Linked DNA regions of Homo sapiens: regions 2, 3, 4, 5, 6 and 7 are each linked to region 1. Evidence: promoter capture Hi-C in 16 types of primary human blood cells and fetal thymus (Javierre and others, 2016). All regions are on one chromosome and are shown on one strand. Each heading gives the region's core, a stretch centred on a gene start or on the middle of the fragment in contact. The rest is flanking DNA. Distances are from core to core; before and after follow the strand shown.

Evidence for each region. Contacts are between HindIII fragments. The CHiCAGO score rates a contact against its expected background, and 5 or more counts as called.
Region 2: a contact is called between a fragment that was not itself captured here and the fragment with the promoter of SLC35D4 in region 1, in 5 of 17 cell types (naive CD4 T cells, endothelial precursors, naive CD8 T cells and 2 more). The highest score is 8.7, in naive CD4 T cells.
Region 3: a fragment that was not itself captured here is called in contact with the fragment with the promoter of SLC35D4 in region 1 in 1 of 17 cell types (activated CD4 T cells); the score reaches 5.3 in activated CD4 T cells.
Region 4: a fragment that was not itself captured here is called in contact with the fragment with the promoter of SLC35D4 in region 1 in 4 of 17 cell types (non-activated CD4 T cells, endothelial precursors, total CD4 T cells and 1 more); the score reaches 6.4 in non-activated CD4 T cells.
Region 5: a fragment that was not itself captured here is called in contact with the fragment with the promoter of SLC35D4 in region 1 in 2 of 17 cell types (total CD4 T cells and total CD8 T cells); the score reaches 5.7 in total CD4 T cells.
Region 6: a fragment that was not itself captured here is called in contact with the fragment with the promoter of SLC35D4 in region 1 in 5 of 17 cell types (naive CD4 T cells, endothelial precursors, non-activated CD4 T cells and 2 more); the score reaches 7.8 in naive CD4 T cells.
Region 7: a contact is called between a fragment that was not itself captured here and the fragment with the promoter of SLC35D4 in region 1, in 3 of 17 cell types (total CD4 T cells, fetal thymus and activated CD4 T cells). The highest score is 6.5, in total CD4 T cells.

The regions. Positions count from the first base shown.
Region 1 is chr18:23,436,395-23,439,252 of GRCh38, forward strand. It overlaps SLC35D4 (solute carrier family 35 member D4), which reads right to left and starts at 1,567. Exons shown (of 15, transcript NM_032933.6): 1 at 1,387-1,567. The coding sequence starts at 1,458. RefSeq lists a silencer at 1,596-1,695. The HindIII fragment of the contact is 5,255 bases long and covers 1-2,858 here.
Region 2 is chr18:23,028,620-23,031,436 of GRCh38, forward strand. No RefSeq gene overlaps it. Among named protein-coding and RNA genes, the nearest start is that of RBBP8-AS1, 96 kb to the left of the region's middle. The HindIII fragment of the contact is 1,236 bases long and covers 904-2,139 here.
Region 3 is chr18:22,990,723-22,993,945 of GRCh38, forward strand. It overlaps RBBP8 (RB binding protein 8, endonuclease), which reads left to right. Exons shown (of 19, transcript NM_002894.3): 10 at 215-327; 11 at 2,026-2,917; 12 at 2,999-3,125. Among named protein-coding and RNA genes, the nearest start is that of RBBP8-AS1, 59 kb to the left of the region's middle. The HindIII fragment of the contact is 1,830 bases long and covers 661-2,490 here.
Region 4 is chr18:23,007,825-23,010,796 of GRCh38, forward strand. All of the region lies in intron 16 of RBBP8 (RB binding protein 8, endonuclease), which reads left to right. Among named protein-coding and RNA genes, the nearest start is that of RBBP8-AS1, 76 kb to the left of the region's middle. The HindIII fragment of the contact is 1,911 bases long and covers 762-2,672 here.
Region 5 is chr18:22,968,870-22,972,054 of GRCh38, forward strand. It overlaps RBBP8 (RB binding protein 8, endonuclease), which reads left to right. Exons shown (of 19, transcript NM_002894.3): 5 at 1-49. Among named protein-coding and RNA genes, the nearest start is that of RBBP8-AS1, 37 kb to the left of the region's middle. The HindIII fragment of the contact is 634 bases long and covers 1,528-2,161 here.
Region 6 is chr18:23,063,317-23,066,391 of GRCh38, forward strand. No RefSeq gene overlaps it. Among named protein-coding and RNA genes, the nearest start is that of CABLES1, 71 kb to the right of the region's middle. The HindIII fragment of the contact is 2,957 bases long and covers 193-3,075 here.
Region 7 is chr18:22,950,546-22,953,514 of GRCh38, forward strand. The region is part of intron 4 of RBBP8 (RB binding protein 8, endonuclease); the gene reads left to right. Among named protein-coding and RNA genes, the nearest start is that of RBBP8-AS1, 18 kb to the left of the region's middle. RefSeq lists an enhancer at 1,316-2,004. The HindIII fragment of the contact is 7,109 bases long and covers 1-2,969 here.

The DNA.
Region 1 (2,858 bases), core at 317-2,816:
TAAGGTTCCAAACGCCAAGTAAGTGGAGCCAGGAAGTAAAACCCATCACTGCCTCCCAGGAAGGCTGCATTTATGGACCTTCAAAGGCTTATCGCCATAACTAAAAATCAACTGGAGGCCAGGCGCAGTGGCTCACACCTGTAATCTCAGCATTTTGGAAGGCTGAGGCATGCGGATCACCTGAGGTCAGGAGTTCGAGACCAGCCTGGACAACATGGTGAAACCCCGTCTCTACTAAAAATACAAAAATTAGCCCAGCGTGGTGGCGCACACCTGTAGCCCCAGCTACTCACGAGGCTGAGGCAGGAGAATCGCTTGAACCCAGGAGGCAGAGGTTGCAGTGAGCCGAGATCACGTCACTGCACTCCAGCCTGGGTGACAGAGCGAGACTCTATCTCAAAAAAATAAAAATAAAAATCAACTGGAGAAGGAAAGGGGGTTGGGGAGCATCCTCTGAATATATAAAGGCAGCCATTCATTGTAGGAGAGGAGGTAGAAGGAAATGCTGTTTGTCGATGGTTCTTTTCCAGAGAGGAAGAGAGGAGAAAGGAAGAGCGGGGAGCAGGTGGGGAGCCCGCAGTAAGACCCCACAGTGGGGCCAGGTGGTCTTGCACCCTGTATTCCCACTTTGGCTGGGGCCAGCCCAGAGTCCAGGCCAGCAGGTAATGCCCCAGCCATGCCCACTCGGTCCTATTGGATCCAACCTTTCCCTGCGTGGTACCAAACCTAAAGCCAGCTTCCCTCTCCTTGCAAAACAAAACCCCAAAGCTGGCACCACTGCTTCTCTGCCTCCTCACCAAAAGGTTTTCATGATGTCATGACATTAGTTTAAACCTAAAACTAAATGTATGTTTTATTTTAAAAAATAATAATTCCATGAAAAACTCCTGAAGTGCTTACAATGGAGACGTACAAAAAAATTGATTCGGGAATCAGCAGTGTGAGGGGGAGACGGCTTAATCTCTTCTATTTAAAGGCTTCTGGAACTTCACGGGGGCTCTGGGACAGGGGCGTGTTTAGAAAAAAGGCAGGATGTGTCAGATTTCTTCTGACTCTTCCTCCCCGGGGGAGCAGGAGCCAATTGCTTGCTTTCTCTTAAAACTAGTCCACACAGCCCCAAACCAAGTTCCCGGGAAATGGCCAGCCCAAAAATCCTGTTTCCCTGGAGATGTACCGTGCTTTACAGTGCAGGAAACGGGGACAGTACAGGCTGGCAAATCCTATTTCTGAAAGAGCATCCCACACACGGAGGAGGTTCGCTCTCCATCTCCATCGCCACCAGGAAGAATGAGGTAAAAAGCAGGAGGAGGCTCCGTTTGTCACGGGAAGATTCTCCGACTCAAACCTCCCACGTGCAATCGCTGCCTCCCGCGCCCGCCCCCTCACCTTGTTCGTGAGGTAAGAAGCCAGGTAGCAGGTACAAAAGGTGAGGCCGACCAGAGACCTCCTCACGCACATCTGTCAACTCGTCCCCTTCTCGGGGATCCACGGTGCCTGCCCAAATCCCCTGGCCGCCGCCCGACCCCCGCAGCAGCAGCAGCGGCAGCGGCAGCAGCCGCCCAGAGACGGCCACGTGGCTCCGAGCTCCGCCAATCAGCGCGGGGACCGCCCCCGGCGTCTGCCTTCTTAAAGGGGCCGCGCCCTCGAAGGACGGTCATTCTTCTTTTATTTTTTATTTTTTATTTTTTTATCTTCTTTTAAAGAGTAGAAAGTGGCAGAAGAGGAAAAAAGCATACCGCAGTTCACAATACCCCATCAGTGTTTAAAGAAAAATGTTCATCGCTATCTCTAAACTATGAGACCAAAATATTACCCGTGCTTCACTGAATTTTCCCAATTTTCTCCACTGAGTCTGTAGCGCTTTGGCAAATGACACAAAAAAGGTAACAGCAACAAATGTTCACTTAAAAGAGGGAAGGTGAAGGAAGAAGGAACTGGAATTGAGTATAGGTTTTTTGAGTTTTGTTTGTATTTAAAGTCATTCCATTCTCTTGACATTTCTATAAAATAAGAACCCTTTCCCAAGCACAGCCCCTATTCCTATTCCTATTCCTAGTCTATAGGGTGGAAAACTGGACTCATGAGGCTTCCGGCAAATGTTAGTAAACATGCAAGAAAACCTATTGATGGACTTGGACAATAGCAAAAAGTGCCAGTGTTCTCTGCCTGTAGAAACACACAGATTTTCAGAAACACCCACACACGGGGAAACCATCACTCTTAAGCCACAGCAAAAGTCCTCCTGGCTCTCGGTGCTGGAGCAGTGGATGGAAAACGACACACCAACCCTTATGTAATTTTTCTGTTTTTCAGAAGCATGCCTTGTTTCTCTCTGCTCCCTCCAGCATTGAGGGAGGGCTGACCTCGGCTTGTCCCCTTGAAGCCACTCCCCAGCCACCACTGTCTCATCGCAGTCCTTTGCCTCTGCTCACTTTTCCACAGGTCTCTTCCTGGGCCTGCTGGTTGGTCTGCAGAGGGGACCAACATAGAGATGGAGGTAGGCTGGTCACCCCTTCCCTCCCTTTTCTCCCACAGTCTCCTTCAAACCACTTGTACAGATGGGTATAGCTTTCTCTACCAAGACTGGATGATATGGTTTGGCTGTGTCCCCAAATCTCATCTTGAATGGTAGCTTTCATAATTCCCACATGTTATGGGAAGGACCTGGTGGCAGATAATTGAATCATGGGGGCAGTTTCCCCCATATTCGTCTCGTGGTAGTGAATAAGTCTCCCCAGAGCTGATGGTCTTATAAGGGGAAACCCCTTTCGCTTGGCTCTCATTTTTTCTCTCTTGCCTGCCACCATGTAAGACGTGCCTTTTGCCTTCCACCATGATTATGAAGCCTCCCCAGCCCC
Region 2 (2,817 bases), core at 272-2,771, 410 kb before region 1:
AGGTCTCTCTCCCATCTTATCTGCTGTGGACCAACTTCTGCCTTTAAATGGAGTAAGGAAATAGACACATTTTAAAAACATTTCAGTGGCAGGACACGGTGGCTTATGCCTGTAATCCTAGCACTTTGATGAGAGGCCAGGGTGGGTGGATCACTTAAGGTCAAAACCTTGAGACCAGCCTGGCCAACATGACAAAACCCCGTCTCTACTAAAAATGCAAAAATTAGTCAGGCGTAGTGGTGCATGCCTGTAATCCCAGCTACTCAGGAGGCTGAGGCAGGAGAATAGCTTGAATCTGGGAGGTGGAGGCTGCAGTGAGCCAAGATCACGTCACTGCACTCCAGCCTGGGCAACACAGTGAAACTCTCTCAAAACTAAAAAACATTTGGGTTAGATAACATTTAAATGCAAAATGGCTGTTTATGACACTGCACTCAAGCTTTTCTTTAAAAAGATAATGTATATTAAAGGGCTTTATACATTTGTAAAGCATTTGTATAATACACGTTAGATAATATTTTCATAAGAATGTATGTCATTCACTGGTTACATAGTTACATAGAATTTCAGGTTGCCAGCAAGCTTTTTTTTTTTTTTTTTTTTTTTTTTTTTTGAGATGGAGTCTCTCACTCTGTCACCCAGGCTGGAGTGACAGTGACAGTCTCAGCTCAATACAACCTCCACCTCCTGGGTTCAAGCAGTTCTCCTGCTTCAGCCTCCTGAGTAGCTGGGATTACAGGCGTGCGCCACCACGCCCGGCTAATTTTTGTATTTTTAGTAGAGATGGGGTTTCACCATGTTGGCCAGGCTGGTCTCAAACTCTTGACCTCAGGTGATCTGCCTATCTCAGCCTCCCAAAGTAGTAAGATTCCAGGCAGGAGACACCACACTTGGCCACTAGCAAGCTTTTTAAAGTTAGAGACTATTGATTTAAACTTAGGAAACATGTAGAACCTATATGTCGCACTTAACATTTGACTGACAGCTTGCCTACCTTTAGTAAAGAGATATTCTGATTAAGCCGTTTGAAACCTAAGGTTGTCAAATGGGACAGTCTGAATGAGTTAATCATGGATACCCAAATATGTGTAGAAGACATGATAATGTTACCTTGAGAGAAAAGCCAGATGAAACAGAAGAATATTCCCTAAAACATTTCATGCGGTGAAAAGTTTTCTCAAAGTCCAACTGGCAAGGCTGCTGCCAATAGGCTCAATATATTAGTAACTCAGTTTAAACTGCATCTAGGCCGGGCATGGTGGCACAGGAGCTACTTGGGAGACTGAGGTGGGAGGATCCCTTGAGTCCCGGGAGGTTGAGGCAGCAGTGAGCCAAGATCGCGCCAGTGCACTCCAGGCTGGATGACAGAGTGAGACCCTGTCTCAATAAATAACAAAATAGGCCGGGCGCGGTGGCTCACGCCTGTAATCCCAGCACTTTGGGAGGCCAAGGCGGGCGGATCACGAGGTCAGGAAATCGAGACCATCCTGGCTCGATTTAGGAGAGACGGTGAAACCCCGTCTCTACTAAATGTGCAAAAAATTGGCCGGGCGCGGTAGCGGGCGCCTGTAATCCCAGAGACTCGGGAGGCTGAGACAGGAGAATGGCGTGAACCCAGGAGGCGGAGCTTGCAGTGAGCTGAGATAGCGCCACTGCAGTCCAGCCTGGGCGACAGAGCGAGACTCCATCTCAAAAAAATAATAATATAATAATAATAATAAACTGCAACTAGCATGTATTTTTAAATGTATGTAGGGCATTAGACGCTCTGAAAGAAATAACTTTGAAAGAGGGCAAAGATTTCTCCCAAGATTGTCTTTCTTTAAATTTTTTGTGTTTTTTTTTTTTTATAGAGATGAGTTTTCACTATGTTGCCCAGGCTGGTCTTGAACTCCTGAGCTCAAGTGATTCTCCTGCCCCGGCCTCCCAAAGTGCTACGATTACAGATATGAGCCACTGAGCCTAGCTCCAAGATGGTCTTTCATTTGTAATTCAGTTACATAAAAAGACTAATGTTACATAAACCAAATAACACTAGTTCATTTATTTAACAAACATTTATTCAGCACTTTACCAGGCATGATACTAAGTACAGTGTCAGAATTAGACAAAATTTGACAAATATTCTCTAAAAGAGCAAGCTTTTAAAGAAACACCTAAGAATCTTACTTTGTCATCTTTGTCATCTCATAACATCCATGAGTTTAATTTTGAAAAATGCCACTGCAGAAATAAGCATTTGAACTGTATCTCAAATTTTACTATCCAACTGTGTATTTTCAGCATATCTAGCAGTTTAAGTGACACCTCAGTCTTTCTCTTTGCCGAGTTGAACTGTTAGAATAGTCCTTAGAAAGCCGAAGTGTTGACTGGACACAGTGGCTTACGGCTGTAATCCCAGCACTTTGGGAAGCTGAGGCTGGAGGTTCACTTGAGCCCAGGAGTTCAAGACTAGCCTGGGCAACATGGCAAGACCTCGTCTCATAAAAAAATAATAATAGGCCGGGCGCAGTGGCTCACACCTATGATCCCAGCACTTTGGGAGGCCAAGGCGGGCGAATCACCTGAGGTCGGGAGTTCGAGACCAGCCAGACCAACATGGAGAAACCTCATCTCTACTAAAAATACAAAATTAGCCAGGTGTGGTGGCACATGCCTGTCATCCCAGCTACTCGGGAGGCTGAGGCAGGAGAATCACTTGAATCTGGGAGGCGGAGGTTGCAGTGAGCTGAGATCATGCCATTGCACTCCAGCCTGGGTGGGCAACAAGAGCAAAACTCCATCTCAAAATAGTAATAATAATAACTAGGTGTGGTG
Region 3 (3,223 bases), core at 326-2,825, 450 kb before region 1:
ATCCTCTGGCAACTTCCAATCTGCTTTCTGTCCCTAGAGATTTACCTATTCTGAATATTTCATATAAATGGAATCATACATTATGTGGCCTTTGTCTGGCTTCTTAGTATATTTTTGAGGTTCATCTACATCATAACATATATCAGTACTTCATCCCTTTTTAAGAATGAACAAATCCCATTACATGGATGTGCTTCATATTTTACTCTTGAAGGAAACTCAAGGTCCCATGAGCCCCCTTGGTGATGAGCTCTACCACTGTCTGGAAGGAAATCACAAGAAACAGCCTTTTGAGGAATCTACAAGAAATACTGAAGATAGTTTAAGGTAATTAAGGGCACGTTGGTGAAAACTGATAAGCTATTGGTGAGATCCCATTACAATGAATTTCATATAATTAAGCCATTTCTCTCCTTCAACATATAGTTTGTTATTGTGGTTATATAAATGTTTACTTTAAAAATTGTCTCCCTAGTTTCTGACCAATTGAGAGCTTTTTTGCATTACAGTAGAAAGGTGGATATCATTTTTAGCTACTTTCTGTGTTTCTGTCAAGCAGTACTTGTTCCCAGTACTTGTCACTCTGCTCCTTTAAAGAGCCAGTCATCCCTTCGGGGTTTATATTTCCCAAAACTGGATGTTCTACAAAATGCATCTAGAAGCTTGGATGAGCTTCCAAGATTGTGTTGCATCTCATTTTTACTAATTTCAGAATACCTATTAACTAATAATACAGCCATTCCGTGATATCAGTGGGGGATTAGTTATAGGACCCCCTCCCCCATGGGTACCAAAATCCAAAGATGCTCAAGTCCGTTACATAAAATGGCCATCATTATTGCATATAACCTGTGCATATCCTCCTGTATATTTTATGTAATTTCCAGATTATTTATAATACCTAATACAATGCCTACATATCAATCCATTTGCAAAGATTCAACATAGTACTTGGCACATGGAAAATTCAAGTTTTGCCTTTTGGAATGTTGTGAAATTTGGATTTTTTACCCAAATTATTTTCTAGCCACATGGCTGAATCTACAGATGCAGAACCCACAGATAAGGAGGGCCACTGTACCTGTATTTATATAGCATTTTGCTTTTTAAAAGAGCTTTCAGTTTTTAGATATATAGATATCTATCTATCTATATATGTATATCACAGTCTGTCATCTTAGTAACTGATTAAAGTAGATTTTGTTACCCTAATTTTTGGGTTTATTTTACAGATTACAAAAATACAGCTCCAGAAAGGTTAAATGTCTTGTTTCAGGCCACATAGCTATTAAGTGGTAGAGCCAGAGATCTTACCCAGCCCACATCTTCAAACTTACTGCTCTTTCTACGCATATTTCCTCTGCTAGAGACAGGCTGAATCTTAATTTATGTTCAATTCTGTAGTGTAAGAATTTTGTTTCTTGGAGTTACTCATGATCAAATGTCGTAACAAAAGAACTTAGGTTCTCAGTGGAATTTATTAAAATATGATTTTTGTTTGTTTGTTTCTTGAGACAGAGTCTCACTCTGTCACCCAGGCTTAGCTCACTGCAACCTCCACCTCCCAGGTTCAAGTGATTCTCGTGCCTTAGCCACCAGAGTAGCTGGGATTACTGGCGTGTGCCACCACACCCGGCTAATTTTTGTATTTTTAGTAGAGATGGGGTTTCACCATGTTAGCCAGGCTGGCCTCGAACTTCTGGCCTCAAGTGATCTGCCCACCTTGGCCTCCCAAAGTGCTGGGATTACAGGCATGAGCCACTGCGCCTGGCAAAAGATGATTTTTTGTATAATAAAGTTATTTAAAGTACTTAGGAAAAATTTTTAAAATATGAATATTATGGTGTTGAGAAATACTTCCTATGTCATTTTCCTCTGCTTTTCCCCTTCTCTTTTGTCATCTAAATGAAGAGAAGCCAAAAGCTGTACCTTGTCTTAAATTTTGGTTAATCATTTGCTTCTAAGAGGTAGATAAGACCTTACTATTAATTCTGTATTAAAGAATTGTTATCACTCTTTATTTAGATTTTCAGATTCTACTTCAAAGACTCCTCCTCAAGAAGAATTACCTACTCGAGTGTCATCTCCTGTATTTGGAGCTACCTCTAGTATCAAAAGTGGTTTAGATTTGAATACAAGTTTGTCCCCTTCTCTTTTACAGCCTGGGAAAAAAAAACATCTGAAAACACTCCCTTTTAGCAACACTTGTATATCTAGATTAGAAAAAACTAGATCAAAATCTGAAGATAGTGCCCTTTTCACACATCACAGTCTTGGGTCTGAAGTGAACAAGATCATTATCCAGTCATCTAATAAACAGATACTTATAAATAAAAATATAAGTGAATCCCTAGGTGAACAGAATAGGACTGAGTACGGTAAAGATTCTAACACTGATAAACATTTGGAGCCCCTGAAATCATTGGGAGGCCGAACATCCAAAAGGAAGAAAACTGAGGAAGAAAGTGAACATGAAGTAAGCTGCCCCCAAGCTTCTTTTGATAAAGAAAATGCTTTCCCTTTTCCAATGGATAATCAGTTTTCCATGAATGGAGACTGTGTGATGGATAAACCTCTGGATCTGTCTGATCGATTTTCAGCTATTCAGCGTCAAGAGAAAAGCCAAGGAAGTGAGACTTCTAAAAACAAATTTAGGCAAGTGACTCTTTATGAGGCTTTGAAGACCATTCCAAAGGGCTTTTCCTCAAGCCGTAAGGCCTCAGATGGCAACTGCACGTTGCCCAAAGATTCCCCAGGGGAGCCCTGTTCACAGGAATGCATCATCCTTCAGCCCTTGAATAAATGCTCTCCAGACAATAAACCATCATTACAAATAAAAGAAGAAAATGCTGTCTTTAAAATTCCTCTACGTCCACGTGAAAGTTTGGAGACTGAGAATGTTTTAGATGACATAAAGGTTTGTGTTAAATGTTCAAGGATTTTGATTAAAATGATTGCTTGTGATTTCATTTAGAGCTAACAATTATTTCTGTTTTAGAGTGCTGGTTCTCATGAGCCAATAAAAATACAAACCAGGTCAGACCATGGAGGATGTGAACTTGCATCAGTTCTTCAGTTAAATCCATGTAGAACTGGTAAAATAAAGTCTCTACAAAACAACCAAGGTGTGTACACCATAAACAGGATCTCCACTTTTTTAATGACTTCAGATTGAATGTCATTATTTACTTTTTTAAATAGATTGAATTGTTTTGGAAAAAAA
Region 4 (2,972 bases), core at 467-2,966, 430 kb before region 1:
TTTTTGAAATGGAGTTTCGCTCTGGTTGCCCAGGCTGGAGTGCAATGGCATGATCTTGGCTCACTGCAACCTCTGCCTCCTGGGTTCAAGCAATTCTCCTTCATCAGCCTCGCGAGTAGCTGGGATTACAGGTGCCCACCACAACACCTGGCTAATTTTTTGTATTTTTAGTAGAGACAGGGTTTCACCATGTTAGCCAATATGGTCTCGATCTCCTGACCTCGTGATCCACCCGCCTCGGCCTCCCAAAGTGCTGGGATTACAGGCGTGAACCACCACGCCTGGCGCTAAGCATCTTGATTTAACCATAATGCGACCTTCTGCCTTTCACAAGGACTGCAAATTCTGTTACTTATAGTCACCTACTATTTGTTCTTAAAGCAAATTGAAGACATAGTAATTCATTCAAAAAAAATTGTTATTTTTTTCTTTAAGATGTTGGTAAATTGAGTTACTCAGTAAAGTTACTCCTTTTATTTTTATTTCTGTTGAGAATTTTAGAAATCTAACAGGCCAAGATTTTTTTTATTCCTCTGAAACTCTTAAAGAGCTGTCATTTTGTTTAATGCTTAATTCTTCTTTTTTAGTTACCAGTTTTCCAAACAAATGGTACTCTAGCATTCCAAATGTGACTAGGTTGTTTTTTGTTTAGGTGTCATTATATACTCATCAATTTAAGTATATTTGATGTGTTGTAATCCATTGCAGTCATTATCCTTAGAGATACCCAGATTGTCCCATCTTTGCCTAAAGGAAAAGGAAGCTTCTTTCATAGGTTTCTTGCTTCTGTTATCTGGAATCTGCCATTTTTCTTGGAGCCCTAGTTCCTTTTAGTGAGAAATGGTGTTTAGGCCACAGTCTGGCTGCTAGGGTTGCACTTTAGTCATTGTTTCTCAGCCTTTTAGGTGGACAGAGTTAGGAAAAAGATTTTTTGTATGACTTTGATTTTTTTTTTTTTTTTTTTTTTGAGACAGAGTCTCACTCTGTCACCCAGGCTGGAGTGCAGTGGCACAATCTCGGCTCACTGCAAGCTCTGCCTCCTGGGTTCACGCCATTCTCCTGCCTCAGCCTCCTGAGTAGCTGGGACTACAGGCGCCCACCACCACACCTGGCTAATTTTTTGTATTTTTAGTAGAGACAGGGTTTCACCGTGTTAGCCAGGATGGTCTCGATCTCCTGACCTCGTGATCCACCCGCTTCGGCCTCCCAAAGTGCTGGGATTACAGGCGTGAGCCACCTCACCCGGCCATATCACTTTGATTTTTTAAGGTAAACTATACTTCATACTGATCGCTCTAACTCAAATTCAGGACCACAGGATATTTATGTAAACTCCTCTATCTTACATCTTTATTTACTTTCCCACCTACTGAAAATCCCACTTCTCAGTGCCACCAACATAATTCCTTAATTTATTTTATTCCACAATACACATAAAGCAGTTTCAGAATAATACCACCAATAATATAATTAATGAAAATTGTTTGAAAACTTTTTGTATGCTCTTTTGTCCTTAAAATATATTCTATTAGAAATGTACAGTAAAATCACTGCGTTTTTTTTTTAAAGTCATTTGGGATAATTATTTTTTGCAGTTATGCCACCAACTCAGTACCTTATTTTGCTTTTGATTTTTTAGGAATTGGGTTTTTTTCTTTTCATATTTAATTCTTTTAAAAGTACATAAAGTATAATGTATTTTATATATATATATATAAAATGTATATAATGGACACAAAGTATGTACATTGTACCAGACTACAAGTATATTCAGATAAATCTCACGTCTATTCTTGGCCTCTATATCTTATAGCTCCCTATCCCTATAGGTAATCATTTGTTTAAAATTTATGATTTTTCTTCTATCCTAAAAAATAGAAGCAAATACATGTATATAGTCATGCTATCCATGACTCATATAGAATATTATATATACTTTGCTCTACTTTGCTTTTTTAGACGGAGTCTTGCTCTGTCACCAGGCTAGGGTGCAGGGGCGCCATCTCAGCTCACTGCAACCTCCACCTCCTGGGTTCAAGCGATTCTCCTGCCTCAGCCTCCCGAGTAGCTAGGACTACAGGCATGCGCCACCACGCGCAGCTAATTTTTGTATTTTTAGTGGAGATGGGGTTTCACCATGTTGGCCAGGATGGTCTCGATCTCTTGACCTTGTGATCTGCCTGCCTTGGCCTCCCAAAGTGCTGGGATTACAGGCATGAGCCACTGCACCTGGCCTGCTTTTTTTATTTAACTATAGATCCTGGAAATCACTCAAGTTGTATATAGCGATATTCCTCATTTCTTTTTAGCTCCATAGTACTTCATTATGTGACCCTACTGTAGTTTATACCCTAGCAGTGGACACTTGGGTTGTTGACAGTTATGCCTAGTGCACACAGTGCTGCAGTGAATAACCTTGCACATTCTCTTTTCATATTTTTGCCTGTAGATCATTGAGATAGATTCCTAGAAGTAGGACTGCAGAGTAACAACTGTCATTTTCCAGGTGGCTCATGCCTGTAATCCCAGCACTTCAAGAGGCTTTGGCGGAAGAATCGCTTGAGCCCAGGAGTTTGAGACCAGCCTGGGCAACACAGTGAGACCTCGTCTCTACAAAAATTAAAAATTAGCTAGGTGTGATGGTGTGTGCCTATAGTCCCAACTACTCAGGAAGCTTTGAGAAGATCGCTTGAGCCCAGGAAGTCAAGGCTGCAGTAAGCTATGATCACACCACTGCACTCCAGCCTGGGCCAACAGAGTGAGACCCTGTCTCCAAAAAAAAAAAGAACTGTCATTTTAAATGTTTCATGTTAAAGGTTCACTAGTTTTTTAGAAAATATGTATGAGTAGTTTTATTTATTCTGAAGCAATTAGATAGCTGGAGAACAAGAGGTGAATGGAAGTGTGGGGATGGAGGCATGGAGATGCTAGAATTCTCAGAGTTACATTGTTGCTTTTTCCACTGAGAATAC
Region 5 (3,185 bases), core at 595-3,094, 470 kb before region 1:
GAGTTTGAAAATATCCGGCAGCAGAATCTTAAACTTATTACAGAACTTAGTGAGTTTCCTTTCTTCATTTATTATTTAAAGTATGTAATGTATTATTTTTAAGACCTATTAGTAAATTGGTTGTAATTAAATGGATGGTTTACATATATTTTTCCTTATTTAGTAAAAGTTCAAATGTCCTTTTTTGTACTTTTTGTAGATTTAATCTCATGCTTAATTTAGTAAGAAATAGGGTACAAAAAGGTTGTGCAAATACTGTCCACATTGGTCTTAAGTCATCAGTTGTAAGACAAGAAGCAGGTGGTGTTTTTTTTTTTTGGACATGTCCATATTTGCTTCTTTGGTTTTAATCTTTATTTCATGTAACCTTAATACTTAGTAAAGTTAAATACAAAGCAGACAATTTATTGTTCTACACTTGTTTTCTCTCTTGGTATTTATGACATACTGTTTTCATAAGTATACTATTTTCAGTTTATTCTCCTTACCTATTGAGTGTAGAGTTTTTCTACATTCTTAGCCGCCTTCTTTTATTCTTTTAATACTTCTGTTAACCTTATTCTCTTATAACTATTTATTTCTTTTGGTGACCATTACCTGGATTTCCCATAAGCAACTCACAATCAATATATTCAAAATCTAATTAATTATCTTCTTTTCCAAACTAATTCTGTCTTTTATTTTTTTCTGTTAATTATATTGCTACCCTGTGGTTATTCAAGCAAGAATATTGAATATATGCTCATTGTTTTTAAAAGAGGTAAGAAAGAATATAGCTTTATTCTGCTCCCAGAGGTAACTACTGTTAATAGTCTGATACATATCTGTCCAGGTCCAGGTTTTTCTGTCTCTGTGCCTTGTTAGACCCCGCTTCCCTCCCTTCTCTTTTGAATTTTAATGTTATCATACCATACTTTGTGTTCTAATGTGTTACTTCACTTTAGACTATGTCTTGGAAGTCTTTACATGTTAATATGTCTATAGATTCTGTGGTGTATATGGGTGAACGTGTGCATACATTTATTTAGGAATGTAAGAATATTATCAATGAGTAGAAAATTGTTACATCTCAATAAATATGTAGTTGTTCCTTGTCATCTGTAGGGTATTGGTTCCAGGACCCTGACGCATACCAAAATCCTTGGATGCTCAAGTACCTTATATAAAGTCACATAGTATTCGCATATAACCTACCCACATTCTCTTGCATACTTTAAATCATCTCTAGATTCCTTATAATACCAAATGCAGTCTCTACGCATCACTTCATTTGTGTGAATTAAATGTAGTATTCGGTGTCTGGCAAATTCAAGTTTTGCTTTTTGGAACTTTGTAGAATTTTTTTTTCCCAAATGTTTCCCATCCACAGATTTAGAACTCACAGATATAGAAGGCCAACTGTAGTTGAGATCCACAGTAATATTATTGTTAGTACTACTGGAAATAATCTCCAATAATGTCTACATATCTAATAGATTTCCAGCAACTTTATCTAAAATAGAGCCAAAAACTCCAAGCAAGCAAAAAAGCTTATCTAGGTGTTAAAGTATAAGACAACGTTTTTTTAAATGGCTGCATTGTATGCCATAGTATAGGTGTCAATTTTTTAGCTATTGTCACTTTAATGGACTGCTCAACTTTTTGTTTGAATGTTTGAGAATTTTTATTTTCTTACATCCTCTTCAGATTTGGGCAAAAATGTATTAATAATATTCAATCTGGTGGGTGAAGAATGATACCTTTTTAAAATTGGCATTCCCTGTTACTGTTCCAGTCAAGTATTATTTTATATGATCGTCTTCTTGGGTGAATGGCTTATTTATTCTTTGCCCAGTCTTAAATTGCCCTATTTGCTGTTTGTATCTTTTAATTTAGTGAATAACTAAGAGTTATTTATATATTATGGAAGGATTATTACACTTTGGTAGATATGCTGTGCATATATTTTCTACTTTGCCATTACCTGTTGACTTCATTTTATAACTACTTGACAAGTGGAAGTTTTGTATATTTTCTTACCTTGTTTAGGAAGGCTTTCTCTATCCCCAAGAATATAAAAATACACACACGTAAATTTGCATATTTAATCCATCTGGAATTTTTAACATGGAATGTGAAGTAGAAATTTACCATCTTTAGAATTTGCAGGCATTCATCCTCAAGCTTACTGTCTCACAGTCAAAAGATGGCAGGTACTTTTTCAGGCCTCGTAACTGCATTCATACAAGAAGGAAGAAGCAGCAGCAAAAGGCTGAAATGAGCATGCCAGGAGAGTCTTTAAAAAAAAAAAAAAGCTTCTTTGAACACCCACCCAATAACTTTTGCTTCAGTCTCACTAGCCAGGAACCACCCCGACCCTCCCACTCACTCCATCATTGGAAGATGACTAAGGATTTCTGAGGTCTTTCATTAGCTTTATTTTGCTGTAGATTGTCTAGGTAAAAATATTTGCAAATAGTGACAATTTCGTCTTTTCTTTCAATTATTTTTACAGTTTCTTTTGGTGATTGTTTTTCTTTACATACTTTATTGGCCTAAGGGGCTTTAGAATACTGCCCAGAATAGCAGTTGATACATAAGGGAAGACTAGACTATATTACATTTAAGTGTGCTGTGGCCTTCTAGTAGATACGTGAAATTAAGTTATGGATATTTCTTTCTGTACCTCTTTTGCCAAGTTTTGCTTAATTGTGAATTTATAAAACTCTTAGCATCTGTTCATGTAGTAAGTTTTACTGATAGCTTTTCTAGGGTGAACCAATGTTTAATTTCTTTTTTTTTTTTTTTTTTTTTTGAGACGGAGTCTCACACTTTCACCTAGGATGGAGTGCAGTGGCGTCATCTCTGCTCACTGCAACCTCTGCCTTCCAGGTTCAAGCAGTTCTCCTGCCTCAACCTCCCAAGTAGCTGGGATTACAGGCGCCCACCACCACGCCCAGCTAATTTTTTGTATTTTTAGTAGAGAAGCGGTTTCACTATGTTGGCCAGGCTGGTCTTGAACTCCTGACCTCGTGATCCGCTCACCTCGGCCTCCCAAAGTGCTGGGATTACCGTTGTGAGCCACCGTGCCTGGCCCCAGTGTTTAATTTCTAAAACAGACAGGCTTGATATGTTAATGTTTTAATTGGGGAACATACATTTAAATCATCATTTTGTTCATTCAGTTTTTCTGCCAGCAAGGTTCT
Region 6 (3,075 bases), core at 421-2,920, 370 kb before region 1:
CAAAAATGCAAACATAACCTTTCACCTCTCCCCTCACCAGACATTCCACACAGGGCAAATTATTCTGTGTTCTCCAAGACAGATCTCCCCTCCAGAGCTGACAGTCGACTTTCAGACCAAAGTGAAACTGACCCAATAGTCCCATAAACAGTTTTTTTGGATAAACATAGAAATTGACCCTTCTGGTCTTAAAGCTTGAAACTTAGGTTTGTTTTATCTGAGTTCCTTCCTCAGAAAAGGACTGGCAGAACTCTCAAAATGTATCAAAGAGCTGAAACTCACCAGATCATCTTATCTAGACAATGGGGCTCCAGTCCCCTCATTAATCATAATTGCTTCCTTACCCCTCCAGAATTCCTGTTTTCTCGCACATTGTTACATTTCTTCCCTGCTGTATAAACCCCTAATTTTAGTGGGTCAGGGAGATGGATTTGAGACTGAGCTACCATCGGCCACAGCACCCGATTAAAGCCTTCTCTCTTAGCAATACTTGTTGTCTCAGTCATTGGCTTCCCGTGTAGGAGGCCAGCAGGACCGAGACCAAATCGTTGGTGTTTTGGAAACAAAAGTATACCATGGCTAGGTGCGGTGGCTTATGTCTGTAATCCCAGTACTTTGGGAGGCCAAGGCAGGCAGATCACGAGGTCATGAGTTGGAGACCATCCTGGCCAATATGGTGAAACCCTGTCTCTACTAAAAATATAAAAATTAGCCGGGTGTGGTGGTGGACACCTGTAATTCCAGCTACTCAGGAGGCCGAGACAGGAGAATCACTTGAACTTGGGAGGTAGAGGTTGCAGTGAGCTGAGATTGTGCCACTGTACTCCAGCCTGGGCAACAGAGTGAGACTTTGTCTCAGAAAGAAAGAAAACAAAAGCATACCTGCCATGAAACTTTCACTGTCAGGGGGTTGCCTTGGAACTTTAATCCACCAAGAGGGCATATGGAAAGCATGCCCACTTGGCCACTTTCACAACTTACTTCTACCCAGGAAGGCACCAGCTCAACTGCCCCCATAAATAAGATGCCAAGTTAGGGGAACCCCTGCCCTTGCTCGTGTCTTCCCTTGCCTTATCAAAAATACCTGCTTTCTGCTCTAAAAGCAAAGTGGCACATTTAACGGCAGGACACTCTGTGCCCCTTCTCCAAGCTAGCTTCGGAATAAATTCACTTTTTTTGTGTCAGATCTCACTCGTGTTAACGAGACTGCACATTCAGAGAGCCACTAACTAGCATTTCGTTTACAATTTGGTAATTCTATGTTTAAATTTTGAGGACATGCCGAACTGTTTTCTACAGAGGTTGCACCATTTTATATCCCCTCCAGCAACATAATGAGGGTTCCAATTTCTCCACATGCTTGCCAACACCTATTTTCCTGTTTTTAAAAAAATTGTTGGGCTGGGCGCAGTGGCTCATGCCTGTAATCCCAGCACTTTGGAATCCAGCTGAGGCGGGCGGATCACGAGGTCAGGAGATGGAGACCATCCTGGCTAATATGGTGAAACCCCGTCTCTACTAAAAATACAAAAAATTAGCCGGACATGGTGGCGGGTGCCTGTAGTCCCAGCTACTCGGCAGGCTGAGGCGGGAGAATAGCGTGAACCCGGGAGGCGGAGCTTGCAGTAAGCCGAGATTCAGCCACTGCACTCCAGCCTGGGTGACAGAGTGAGACTCCATCTCAAAAAAAAAAAAAAAAAAAAAAAAAAAAGGCCAGGCGCGGTGGCTCATGCCTGTAATCCCAGCACTTTGGGAGGCTGAGGCGGGTGGATCACGAGGTCAAGAGTTCGATACCAGCCTGACCAACATGGTGAAACCCCATCTCTACTAAAAATATATATATATAAATTAGCCTGTCATGGTGGCGTGCACCTGTAATCCCAGCTACTTAAGAGGCTGAGGTAAGAGAATCGCTTGAACCCGGGAGGTGGAGGTTGCAGTAAGCTGAGATCGTGACACTGCACTTCAGCTTGGGCAACAGAGTGAGACTCCATCTCAAAAAACAAACAAAAAAATTGTTGTAGCCATCCTAGTGTCATTGCCTATTTTTATGAAGTTTTATTGGAACATAGCCATGCTGATTTGTTTGCATGTCTATGGCTGCTTTTGCTACAATGGCCAAGAGGGTATTGCCCTTAAGCCAAAAATATTTACCATCTAGCCTTTTAAGACAAAGTTTGCTGACTTCTGTTTTAAATTTGCTTTTCTTTTTAATTTGTCATTTTATGTCACAGCTCCCCAACATAAGACCAAATAATATTGCTGCAAACTAGGGTGAGTCAGCTTATTTTTAGTCTTAAATTTCCTTATCTATAAAAAAGATAGGGTCATTGATTTTCAAGTTGTCTTTTGGCTGTTTTTTTGGTTTTGTTTTTTTGTTTGTTTGTTTGTTTGAGACGGAGTCTCACTCTTGCTCGGGCTAGAGTACAGTGGTGTGATCTTGGCTCACTGCAACCTCTGCCTCCCAGGTTCAAGTGATTGTCCTGCCTCAGCCTCCCAAGTAGCTGGGATTACAGGAGCATGCCACCACGCCCAGCTAATTTTTGTATGTTTAGTAGAGACAGGGTTTTGCCATGTTAGCCAGGCTGGTCTCAAACTTCTGACCTCAGATGATCTGCCCACCTCAGCCTCTCAAAGCGCTGGGATTACAGGTATGAGCCACCATGCCCGGCCTTCTTCTGGCTGTAATAGTCTACAATGGTATTTCCAAAAATGAGTATTTTGCAGTTTATACTTTTTTATGCAGTCTATAACTTGCCCAGCTTTCTTCTGGCTTAAATTAATGGTTTCTTTCACAACTCTTTTTGATTTATTCATCATATAATCAGGGAACGGTAGCCCATTCCTAGCTCGTGTTGTTCTTTCTCTGTACTGAGCTGCAGTGATTTAGTGGGATTTTCCTAAGAAGGTATGAACAAACTATCAAGTGGAAATTCCTGGCTCTTGTAGAGAGGAAAAAGGAATCCTGTTAAAGCCGAATGGCGTCATTGATGATTTCTTAAACAGACAGCTGCGTCCAACTTAAGACCAAGTCCTCCTCCTCGTTCCTCAACCTGGAAAGGCAGGGCCAGGAAG
Region 7 (2,969 bases), core at 185-2,684, 490 kb before region 1:
GGGTGACAGAGCAAGACCGTGTCTCCAAAAAAAAAAAAAAAATACAAACCCACGATATCCCATACTTTCTTTATAGTTTTTATTTTTCCAGGGTAGGCATAGTGGCTCATGCCTGTAACCTCAGTTCTTTGGGAAGCCAAGGCAAGAAGATGATTGCTTGAGTCCAGTAGTTCAAAACCAGCGTCGCAGTATAGCAAGAACTCATCTCTACAAAAAATTAAAAATTAGCCAGGCATGTGACTGGAGTCCTAGCTACTCAGGACACTGAGACGGGAGGATTGCTTGAGTCCAGGAGTTTGAGCAAGCTATGATTGTGCCATTGCACTCCAGCCTGTGTAACAGAACAAGACCCTGTCTCTTAAAAAAATTTTTTTCTTGATATTTTTGTATATGTTACGGAAGGGCTGGGTGATTTGAGTTTGTCTCTATCCTTTTAGTGGTGAAATAATTTAATATTCTTCATATGTGCAAACTGAAATTGAGTACTTTCTACAACTACCAACTCAATGGATGCACATTTGTTGGAATAGGCAGTGTATTGTGGAATAAAGACCTGTGCGCTTTAGAATCACATATGTTTTTGAATTCCAGCTTCACCCTGTGTTCTTAATTCAGATTCCACAACAAATATTTGAGTCCTTGCTGTCTTAGGTGTTGCTCTAGGGGGCTAGGGATGATACTTTTCCTAGTATGTCATGGATTAAATGAGACAGTGCAAGTAACAATACATAACAGAAGTTGAATAAGACTTACATATCTTAGTTGGTGAATATAATTTAGCACTCCTGTCTGTGCATATATTTAATTTTCAAAGGTTGGGAGTGAGCCATACGACAAACAAATGAGACAATTTCAGATTATAAATGCTATGAAGAAAATAAAATCGAATTATGTAATTGAGTAACCACAGGATCTGTGTAGAAAAAAAAACCAAACGCAGCTTTTCCCACTGTACTCGTACAACATGCTTCAGACACCAGATGTGAGGAGGAGTTTCCCCTACCAACAAGCAAACAATTAATTCTACAGCAGACACTAGCTGGGTATCCTCTTAATTCAATTCCTACACTGGATATGGCATCAGGTCCCACAGGTTGAGGGCTTTGTCCCCATGACTGTGTCCTTCCCTCAATTCTGATGCCAATTTCAAGCCCCAGGTTGTTTACCCATGCTTTGGACAGACTCTAAATTGGGGTTCCCACAACCCCCTCCTCGGGTTATATTTACTAGAGTGACTCACGAAACTCAGGAAAACATTTATATTTATCAGTTTATTACAAAAAATTTGTTAAAGGTTACAAGTCAACAGCCAAATGAAGAGATACATGGGGTGAGGTCTAGAAGGATCCTAAACACAGGAGCTTCTGTCACCATGGAGTTGGGGTGCTGTCTTAACTGAGACTTGATTGACAGAAAGGAACCATCCACTTGAAGAACTAGAGACAAAAGGAAATAGAACAGACAAATGTGAAAGTCTAGGGTAGAAATAAGTTTGAAATATTTGAGGAACAGAAAGTCTACTGTGGTTCTAGTTTAATGAGTAAAGGGGATGAGTGATAGGAGTGAGATTGGAAATCTAGTGGGGCAACAACTAGATTTCGTAGGGACATAGGCAAAAAGTTTGGATTTTAATTGTGATGGAAACCACTTAAGCAGGAGAATAACAAAGGGATATAAGTAGGTAGCAACAGCCTGTCTATCCAAATGGAAATGTCAAGTAGATAGATGTATATGTGAATCTAGGATTCAGTGGATCTCTTAAGGACATCTTTGAATAGTATAGGAAGAAAGAAGAGGTCTTAGGGCTGAATCCTTTGGCATTCCTGATTAAGGTTTCATGAAGAATAAGGACCCAGCCAGCAAAAGATTGAGAAAGAGAAACTATTAAAATAGAAGAAAAGCCAGGAACATAGGTCTTGACCACTAACAATACCTTCTTTGCAGGGCTATTTTGAAGTTTAAATGAGATAATGGAAGCAGCAGTACATAACAGATATTTAATAAGACATATACTATCTCCTAATTGGAAGATGATTCCAACTTTTAGCACTCTAATCTGTGTTATATAACACAGCCATGTCTAGGCTGTCTAGCTGAGAAGCCAGGAAACTAGAAAGCCATCTCTCCCACTCACCCTTTCCCAGGTCAGCAATGGAAAGGAAATCATTAGTTACTCATCTGTAGTGTGGTGAGGCGCTTCCTTCTGTTTTCTCTGGATATGTAGTAGAGGATTTCAGGGAACATATCTCTCTCAGCCTTTAACTCCAGCCATTGAAGAGCTTCCTTCTCTTATTTCACCACGTTTTTTCTCTCATTTCTACCATTACACCACTTTCTACAAGCAGTGAGGTTGGAGTGAGTAATGGCATTAACGCCAAGAGATTAGGAATGCTTTTTGTTCCATCATTCCTATGTAAAGAAAATTTCAAGATTGGTATTAATAACGAAATATGTTAGCCTGAGTTCTCTGAGAAGCAAACATCAATAAGACTTTGGACACTGAAGAGATTTATTGGGAAAAATACCTGTAAGAAATGAGGCGTCTGGGAGAGCTGTCAGACCCTCATGCCTCTAACTCTGTGAAGAAGAGAGGGAAGAGGATACTGTACTTGTAAGAGAGCTTTGACAAAGCTAACAGGGAGTCCTGGAGCCATAGTTGCCCTGCTTTCCTCATTTATAGCAGGATCTGACTATGGGATGCCTGGTGTATTCACCTATGTGGAAACAGGTGAAGGATTTCACAGCACAGAAGGTGGAGCCAGGGATTTTATTCTCCTACTGTGGTAGGAGACAGTAAGATGACTGGCCAACTTATATTGACTTCCAGTACTCTTCCTGTTTAGTTGTTCCTTAGCAAGTTGTTAGAGCCCAAAATTATTACACTCAAATTTACTGGATAACATTTTCATTATGTTTTTCTTGAAACATTGGCTTAATACAATTGGCTCTCCATTTCATCCCCAAGATAG